Linked DNA regions of Homo sapiens: region 2 is linked to region 1. Evidence: promoter capture Hi-C in human tissues and cell types (Jung and others, 2019). All regions are on one chromosome and are shown on one strand. Each heading gives the region's core, a stretch centred on a gene start or on the middle of the fragment in contact. The rest is flanking DNA. Distances are from core to core; before and after follow the strand shown. Region 1 overlaps SCGB2A2 (secretoglobin family 2A member 2). Region 2 holds the start of SCGB1D1 (secretoglobin family 1D member 1).

What was found. Contacts are between HindIII fragments. The study calls those that stand out against the background at their distance.
Region 2: the fragment with the promoter of SCGB1D1 here is called in contact with a fragment that was not itself captured in region 1 in 2 of the 25 tissues and cell types used here (liver and neural progenitor cells).

The regions. Positions count from the first base shown.
Region 1 is chr11:62,271,995-62,276,847 of GRCh38, forward strand. It overlaps SCGB2A2 (secretoglobin family 2A member 2), which reads left to right. Exons shown (of 3, transcript NM_002411.4): 3 at 963-1,166. The coding sequence ends at 1,001. Among named protein-coding and RNA genes, the nearest start is that of SCGB2A2, 4.3 kb to the left of the region's middle. The HindIII fragment of the contact is 3,190 bases long and covers 1-2,999 here.
Region 2 is chr11:62,187,308-62,191,542 of GRCh38, forward strand. SCGB1D1 (secretoglobin family 1D member 1) reads left to right here and starts at 2,909. Exons shown (of 3, transcript NM_006552.2): 1 at 2,909-3,032. The coding sequence starts at 2,978. The HindIII fragment of the contact is 12,490 bases long and covers 1-4,235 here.

The sequences.
Region 1 (4,853 bases), core at 155-2,654:
TTTAGCATTTATTCCCTATGTTAAATTCTTCTTTAATCCTTCCCTGGTAAAAAAAAAAAAAAAAAAAAAGTTAGAAATATACCAAACCCCTCCATTAGGATGAAAGTGAACATCACCTCAGGAAACCCTGACGCTTTCTACAACATGGATGAACCTTGAGGATATTATAGCGAGTGAAGAGTGAAGCAAAGAGTCACAAAAACACAAATGCTGCATGACCCATGCATATGGGAATCTGGGGAGCCAGACTCAGAGACAGTGAAAAAAAAAAAAACAGTGGTTGTCAGGGCTTGGGTGCAGAGAAGAAGGGGGAGTCATATTTAATGGGTCTGGAGTTTCAGTTGTGCAAAACAGTAATATTCTGGAGTTAGGTTGCACAACCACACGAATATACAGAACACTCCGAACTGTCCCCTTAAAATGGCAAATTTTATGAGATGTACATTTTACCACTATTAATAATTTGTTAAAAACTAATTATCAACTGCAGGGAAGGGTGATGGATTTGTTTCTTTAAAAGCTTCCTCAGACAGATCATAGTCTGCAGCTCCAATAATTAGTAGAGCACAATGGTGGTGGCAGAGGGCGTCGGACTGCTGGGATGCTGGGAATATTTCCACAATGGAGGGTTAGACGAGAGCTCAAAGTTTCACTTTTTTTTTTTTTTTTTTTTTTGCATTTGAGCTAAGATTTTAACAATCCTGTGAAAATAGGTAATATAGTCACGTATTTGTTGAATACATTATTTCAAAGAACCACAAACACACAGAAAAAATATTTAAAAAGTCCATGGTGGGGGAAATGATCCAGAAACAACAGCTCTTCTACTTCCAGCCCTAACCGTCTGGGATGCTAGATGGTTGTGGGCAAACCGTGGAAAAAGATAAGCTTCTGTTTTTCAAGATTTTATTTTGTTAGAGAGTGCAGAAAATCTAAGTGATGTCTCTGTTTTTGCTTTCTAGCAATTAATATATGACAGCAGTCTTTGTGATTTATTTTAACTTTCTGCAAGACCTTTGGCTCACAGAACTGCAGGGTATGGTGAGAAACCAACTACGGATTGCTGCAAACCACACCTTCTCTTTCTTATGTCTTTTTACTACAAACTACAAGACAATTGTTGAAACCTGCTATACATGTTTATTTTAATAAATTGATGGCAAAAACTGAAGTTTCTCTTTGTTCTACCGTAGAAAAGAGGCGTTAGAGGGCCTCACATATTTTACATACACACACACACACACTTACTTATTAAAGAACTCATGGTCATGGGTTGAGGACTCTGTGAAGCATTTGTTTCCTCAGTCTGACCTCTAAGCCTTGGTACTCTCTCTGAAGAGTGTTTCCCTGTCCCCATCCCACCACCTCCCCCGTCGACTCTCTCTGGAGTCCTCAGGCTCTGGGATGTGAGGCAGGGTTTCACTCAGAGGACCTGCTTTCACTCCAGTCCTCCCATCCACGCTGAGCCCTGCTGGCCATGTCAGGCTTCTCTGCGCTGTCTCTGGGCCTCCCCGAGATGTGCAGGGCCTGGGCCAGAGCCAGCCAGGGAGAGGAGTCCTGCAAAGCAGGGTGGCACCTGACTGGGTTTAAATTTTGTAATTTTTACTCATCATGGATGTTGGCTTCAGTTTAATTTATAAACTACTACAGGAAAATATTATTTTTAACCATATTATGTTATTATTTGAATCCTATGCAATATGACTACTGAGTTTAACAGTACCCCTATTAAGATTTTCAATGTCCTCTAGTCCTGTGCCTGTGGTGGGACTGGGGTCCATCCTCCGCTGTCCCGCAGTGAGCTGCAAAGGCAATGAGGGTTGAGGGGAGTGAGTGTGCTGTGCAGGGACCCAGCACAGCAGGGGATGTTTACATGGAACCTGGAGTCTCTTTCATGTCCTGTCCCCAGCATTCCTGTCACCAGGGGCAGTTATTGCCACCTGTTCTGCTTCTACCTCAGCCTGTCCCTCTTCTTTCTGAGGCTATCCCCTTGTAAGGTTTTTGTATCGGCTCGAACCCCAAGAACATACCAACAGACAACACGAGGCAGTGTGGAGCAACATGCTGTTTTAATGAGCGCCTGGAAGCAGGAGGGCTGAGGCCTAAAGTGGCATCAGCCTTAAGTGAGGATGGTGCAAAGGTTTTATAGTCTCCTGTAAACAGGAAGTGTCCTAGTCTGATGTAACTGCTATGTTATATCTGGATGGCCTCTTTCTCCGTCTTCAGGGGTATGTGTCTTCCGGCCGGCTCTCTTCCTGCTTCTGCTATCTTGCTGGTGCACCCCACTAGCACAAGTAGCCTTGTGCCTTGGGACTGAGCCTGAGAAGTGGGGAGCTCATCTCCTTAAGCTTTCAGGCCCTGGGGAGAATTTTACATTGCTGTCTATTTGGTTATGGAAAAAGGACGACTTTCTCAATAACCACTTCAGGTGTGACATGGGGTGGCATGGGCACCTTGGAAAAAGAAAAACTTAATTTTGGGGCTATTCTTGAGAGACAGGTTGGTATCCACCATGTCATTGTAGCAGGAGCATCATCTGGATTGTCTGGAAAGGTGTCTGTGCCTGCAAAACAGTTATGTTGAGAGGACAAGGAGGTGTCAACAGGGAGAGGCATGGCCTCATTTGCTGCTTCACGAATGAAAGACCATGTCTGGATTAAGAAGGGGAATAATTCCTGAGTGGCTCAGAGTCTGGTAAGGGTGGAGGCCCCAAGACAAAAGTTTGGCCATACATGATTTCAAAGGGACTATAGAAAGAGGGTGCTTTTGGTGTTGCGTGGAGTCTCATGAGGGTAAAAGGGAGATTTTTTGTCCACGACTGGGGGGTTTCTAGAAGCAGCTTGGTGAGTTGGGCTTTAAGGACAGAGTTCATTTTTTCAACTTTGCGTGAAGATTGAGGCCTGTAGGGTGTGTGGAGAACTTACTTTATTTTTAAAGATGTAGAGACACCTTGGGTGATTTGGCTGATGAAAGTGGGCCTGTTATCAGACTGGATGGATGTTGGGAGTCCAAAATGGGCAATTATATGCATGATGAGCATTTGCGTGATGATATTTGTACCTTCTGAAGTTATTGGGAATGCTCCTACCTACCTGGAGAAAGTACAGACAAAAACCAGAAGATAGTGGAGCAATTTATCAGGTGGCTTGTGGGTGAAGTCTACCGGCCAATCTTGCCCGGGTACCTGGCCTCAGGCTTGGTGGGTAGGAAAAGGCAGTGGCCAGAAAGAACCTTGGGGTGACACTGAGAGGCAGATACAGCAGGACTGGGTAATCTCTTGAACACAGCTGGAAAGGTGAGGAGAAGTGAGGATAGGGCAGAGAAGTTGCAGGAGAGGTTTGTAACTGACATGGAAATATTTGTGGAGGTTTGGAGGTGAGGAAGGCTTTGAGAGTGAGGGAGAGTGAAGCACCCTTCCTTGACATACCATGGTCATTGCTTTTGAAGGTTTGGGGCTTGGAAGTCCTCCTTTTCTTGTGAGGAGTAAAGAGAAGAGAACAAGGACAAGGACAGAAACTGGCCTTGCATGGGATGTAGGGCTACTTTTTTGGCTACCTGATCTGCTGGCTCATTTCCAGCCGATATAGGATTGTCTGGGGTTTGGTGGCCTCTGCAATGAATGATGGCAACTTTCTGTGGGAGCTTGGAAGCTTGAAGGAGCTTGCTGATGAGAGAGCCATTTATGACAGGAGTGCTTTTTGCAGTTAGGAAACCCCATTCTTTCCAGATGGATGAGTGTGAGCACTACGTGGAACACATAATGAGAATTTGAATGTATATTCATCTGTTGTCTGGTTGCTAGAGTGAGAGCTTAAGTGAGGGCGATGAGTTCAGCTTTTTCGGAGGTGGTGCCTAGGAGGAGCAGATTGGCTTCAACAGTGTAGGGGCTTGTCAGTGTTTTCCCATGTAGGGAAAAACTGAACATTCAGAGCACTGTTCAGAGGAAATCACTCCTGGACATTATTTGACAAGATATTATTTGAGGGACTATCTCCTGGGTAATTCCTCAATGGGATGAAAATTTTCAACATCCTGTAGGGTGGATGCTGAGGCACTGAGGCAGGGCTTAATGAAGAGGCCTGGAGACTGAAGACAGGAGTGGTACCTGGCAGAGACACCAGTCATCAATGGCTCTGGTCTCAGCACTGACTGTGTGGAGAGCTGTGGGAGGAGCCGGGCACCTACGTAGAGACCAGCCCAGGGCCCAACCTCAACGTCAGGGGCTGGATGTGGTGTCTAGAGACCACTGAGTGAGGTTGTGCGGGTCCAGGACTCCAAGCGGCTGGAGTTGCATCATCTGTGTTAGCAGTTTGAAAATACAGATCATACAAACCCTGTTCTGTGACCATAATTGAGTCCAATGAAAAATCAAGAGCCGAATGACAAGAAATTCGCCAATCACTGAAAATTAAACTCCCTGCTGCTAAATGATAATGAGTCATTAAATACTTATTGAAATTGTCGTTAGTGTCTGTGTCCAGCCCTGGGTTGTGAGGTATGGGCAAGCAGGGACAGTGGATAAACCCTTCTCTACTCCTGCCTCCTGCTGGGATGGTTGGGGACAATGCTCTTTTGCTTCCTAGAGGAATGTCAAATAATCCTGTTTGCCTCTCTTTTCTGGACACTTCAGGGGCCTTCTGAAGTATTCAAAAAGCTAAGTGCAAGGGAAGACAATTTTGAAACTGAAGTTTGATTTTGGGAAGGCTGTTAAATGTTCGAGGTTTAAAACACTTGATATTATAAAATAGAATTGCAGATTATTATAAGTTTTTTATGTTTCCAAAATCATGATTCAGAAATTTTAAAGAAGCAAAAACCTTTTATTGCCCTTTACAGATTTTGCCAAAGAGCAG
Region 2 (4,235 bases), core at 1,659-4,158, 83 kb before region 1:
TTTTAAAATTGTTTATAGAGACAAGGTCTTGTATGTTGCCCAGGCTGGTCTCGAACTCCTGGCCTCAAATGATCCACCTGCCTTGGCCTCCCAAAGCGCTGGGATTACAGGTGTGAGCCACCATGCCCGGCCAAAATGAGAAGATCTTAAGCCAACCAGGGAAGGAGTAGAGCAGTCATCAAAAGTACCACCTATGAAAACTAGAAAAAGCCCCGAGCAGATGTTAAGAGCTACAGGAATGATAAAAATATGTGGGAAGCAATCCTCTTTCAGATATACACATCCTTCCTAATGGAATATACAGATGAAGGCCAAGCCCACATCAGGAAAGCTCTGTTCAACAGCTATGGAAAATTCCTCACCCATCTGTCATCTGTAAGAACCTAAATTCGTGTCCCTGGGTCTGCAGTCTCAGAGACCATGAGCTGGGTTTCCTCCATTTATTTCAGATAGTGGGGGTGTATCCAGGTTTCCTTAGACAGTTGTGTGTCACTTAGTGACTGGGACACATTCTGAGAAATGCATAGGCAATTGTCATTGTGTGAACATCATAAAATGCAGTTATACAAACCTAGATGGCATAGCCTACTGCACACCTCAGCTATTAATAGGTAAGCCTGTTGCTCCTGGACCACAAACCTGTACAGCATATTACTGTTCTGAACACTGTAGGCAGTTGTAATACAATGACAAGTATTTGTGTATCTAAACATATCAAAACAGAAAAGGTGCAGTAAAAACACAGTATTATAATTTTAGGGGACCCCTGTTGTATGTGGGGTCTGATATTAACTAATATGTCCTTATGTGGCCCATGAATTGTAGTTCTGAAAATCAGTGATTTTTTTTTTTGAGGGGTTGGCTGTGCTTTAAACTAGGAACTGGTAATGATCCATGAAATGTATGACAGGTGGGACAAGGTAATAGTAGTCAACATTTATTGAGCGTTTACTACATGTCAGACCTTGTTAATTTTTTTTTCTTTTTTGAGATGGAGTTTTGCTCTTGTTGCCCAGGCTGGAGTGCAGTGGTGCCATCTCAGCTCACCACAACTCTGCCTCCCTTGTTCAAGAGATTCTCCTGCCTCAGTCTCCTGAGTAGCTGGGACTATAGGCACATGCCACCACACCCAGCTAATTTTTTGTATTTTTAGTAGAGACGGGGTTTCACCATGTTGGCCAGACTGGTCTCAACCTCCTGACCTCAGGTGATCCACCCGCCTCGGCCTCCCAAAGTGCTGGGATTATAAGTGTGAGCCACTGCGCCTGGCCAGACCTGGTAAATTTTACACACACACACACACACACACACTCATTTGAACATCTATCAACCCAATGATGTAGGCACCATTTTTAACCTACTTTTACAAACGAGAAAACTGTGTTTACATAAACTAATTTTCAGAGGGTTCAATAGCCCATAGACATGGATCTGAACCCTCCTAGCCATGGGCTTTGCCACTGGACCTTCCACTCCTTAGGGTTGGAGGCAGAGGTGGCATCAGGGGCTTCCCCACCATTTTGGGTGATGGAAGTGAGAGGCATTGTCGCCCTCAGCTGGGACTCAGCCAGACCTGCCAAGGTGTCTCTGATGACACAGACCATAAGGTCCGCTTCCTTCATAAAGGTCTTTCTGGGTGGTTCTCAGTACTGCTGCCCATCAGACCCACCAGAGCAGTTTAAACAGAAGAGGACCTCGCCCTAGAACTACTGAATCAAAATCCCCAGAAAGGGAAGCAGCCTGCGGGGAGTCAGTATAGTTTAAGAGCCCCAAGTGATTTGATTGCAGAGCAGAGAATGGAAAGCTCTGGCCTGGGCTGTGACTGTTCTCAAATGTGTGTTCACTTAAGAGCCAAATTTCTGGTGATTTCCTACTCACCAAATGATGGCACTGCAGTGGAAGGGCAGAAGGGTGTCTATTGCTTTTGCTGGGGATGGCCTTCGCTTTCCATCAACAATGAGATGACCCAGGCAGCAGAGCTGGGTTAGAAGTGGAAAACTTGAGCCCAGAGGTTAGAGGGAAGTGACCACCCACCCTGTTCATCCATCTCTTCCTTTCCATTATCGTCCCTGCCTAGAAGCGAAGACCAGTATTTCTGATGCCTGTTTGCCTCCAGACACCCCAGCAGCTCCTTGGGTAAAAAAAGTTGGGCAATTTAATCATCCCATCAGCCCTATGAGGAGATATGGGTGGCTAGAGGTCACTGGAGGCTTGCTTTTAGTAGACAGAAAATTTGAACCTGTGCTATGTTGACAACTCCACCCATAAATAAAGACACAGATCTTGGAGTGAGACAGAGTAGAGGACAGGGGGAGTGGTTGTTTTCCCCAAGGAAATCCTCCAAAGGTGGGGTGTATGCAGCTATGTTTTAGGTACCTATGTGGTGAAGATGGTGGGGATGGAAGGGGCTGAGTGGGAGGATAGGTCTGGTTCAGACTTGATCTATGTGCAGCTGAAACACGTGTGGCTGATTGTCAGACATGCAGTGGAGGTCAAAGTGGGGTCTCTTCTGTGCCTGCTCTCCTATAACCAAACCACAGCCCCTAGCTTCCTGCACCCCCGGTTTCTGTCCTCCTGAAATGAGAACTCACATTTGCCCTTGCACTGACATAAAGAACAGAGAGATAATCCTCAAAAGCCCAAAAGCAAACTGAGGTTCCAGGGAACATTGCCAGAGGCACCTGGACACTCACCTGGAGCACAGAGCAGAGTTTCTGCAGGGCTGCCCTCCCGTGCTCCGCCCCACTCAGGATGCAGGGAGGTGTGGGGATGTGACACTGATGGATGGCAGCAGCCCTGGCTAGGAAGGGAGGGCTGGAAGCCAGGCCTCATCACCTGCCAGATGCCCATGTGGGCAGGACCAGCCAGGCTCCCTAGGTACAAATAGCCCTGGGCTCCACGGCTCCACAGGCTCCCGGGGCTGAGTCTAAATCACTCATCATTGGTTAAAGCCGAGCTCACAGCAGAATAAGCCACCATGAGGCTGTCGGTGTGTCTCCTGCTGCTCACGCTGGCCCTTTGCTGCTACCGGGGTGAGTACATCAGTCATGAGTCCAGCACCAGCCCTTGGGACACACCCTTCTCTGAGCACGAGGTCACCTATTAAGGTTAAGGTTGGGGTCTGGAACAAACCAAAATTCCAAACCTTATCCTGTGCTTGTTGAAGGAACTGCTCATAAAGCTCGGGCCTCATTTCATCAAATCCCCAGTACCTAGGAAGTTTTGCAGAAAATCAATGCAGGCGAACGTTAGGAATTCTGCCTGAGCTTCACTCTTGGATGGGATCTGTGTCAGATGATGTAATGTGAGGTCTGGGGTGACTCTGGGCTCAGCCACTTCTCAGCCCTTTCACCGTGGGCAAGATGCTCACCCTCCCCGCGCCTCCTCCTATCTCTGGTGCTTAGAGCTTCTTCCGGGAGTGGCAATGGGAATGGAGTGGGATTATTGTGCCAAGGGTCTAGCTGTGGATGTGAAGCCAATCACTGTACTGTCAGACATTCTCGTCCCCAGACCTTTAGGTGCCAATTGAGCTCACAGCTTCTTACATTGTAAATTCAGACTCATAAAATGTTACATCTCGAAGGATCCTTGGAGAACTCTCAGTCCAAGAAGAGATGGTGCTTTCTGATTCTCTCAATAAGAAGCCTGCAAATGAATTCTTAGAATAAGCAGCACTCAATATATCTTCTAGGGGTCCTACCGTAATGGTGGTAGAAATACTACAATGGTTAGCCTCAGAACTTCTATTTTTCTAAAATTAATTCTGGCTGATTTTTCCCCAGTTCATTTGGGTACTTTCCTTTCCCCTGTCAGGACCGATCCAGACTCTGATTTTTCTCTTTCCTCTTCTTTTCTGAACCTCTCCCTGTTTCCCTGTGACACCCCGATCCTACCCTCTCCAAATTCTCCCCACAGTTTGAAGTCGGGTAGTCAGGGGTCATGTTGAGCATGGTGGGGCGCTTTCTGGATGCATGGTGTTTGCAAAAGACTTAGGTGAATGGAGATTCCAGACCAAGCAAAATGATTACTCCAGGTCTTTCCAAAATTCCCAGTGGGAGCAGGAATGAGCCTCAGTTCCCTCCTCTCATCCTCTCCAAATATTCTAGATGCTGCTGCAGAATATGGGCCAAGTACAATTTCCTGTATAAGCTTCTAATGTGTGTTAAAACTGATTCACATTATTTTATTTTGTTTTAATTTGTTTACCTTTTAGCTCTGTCTGTATTGAATCACAT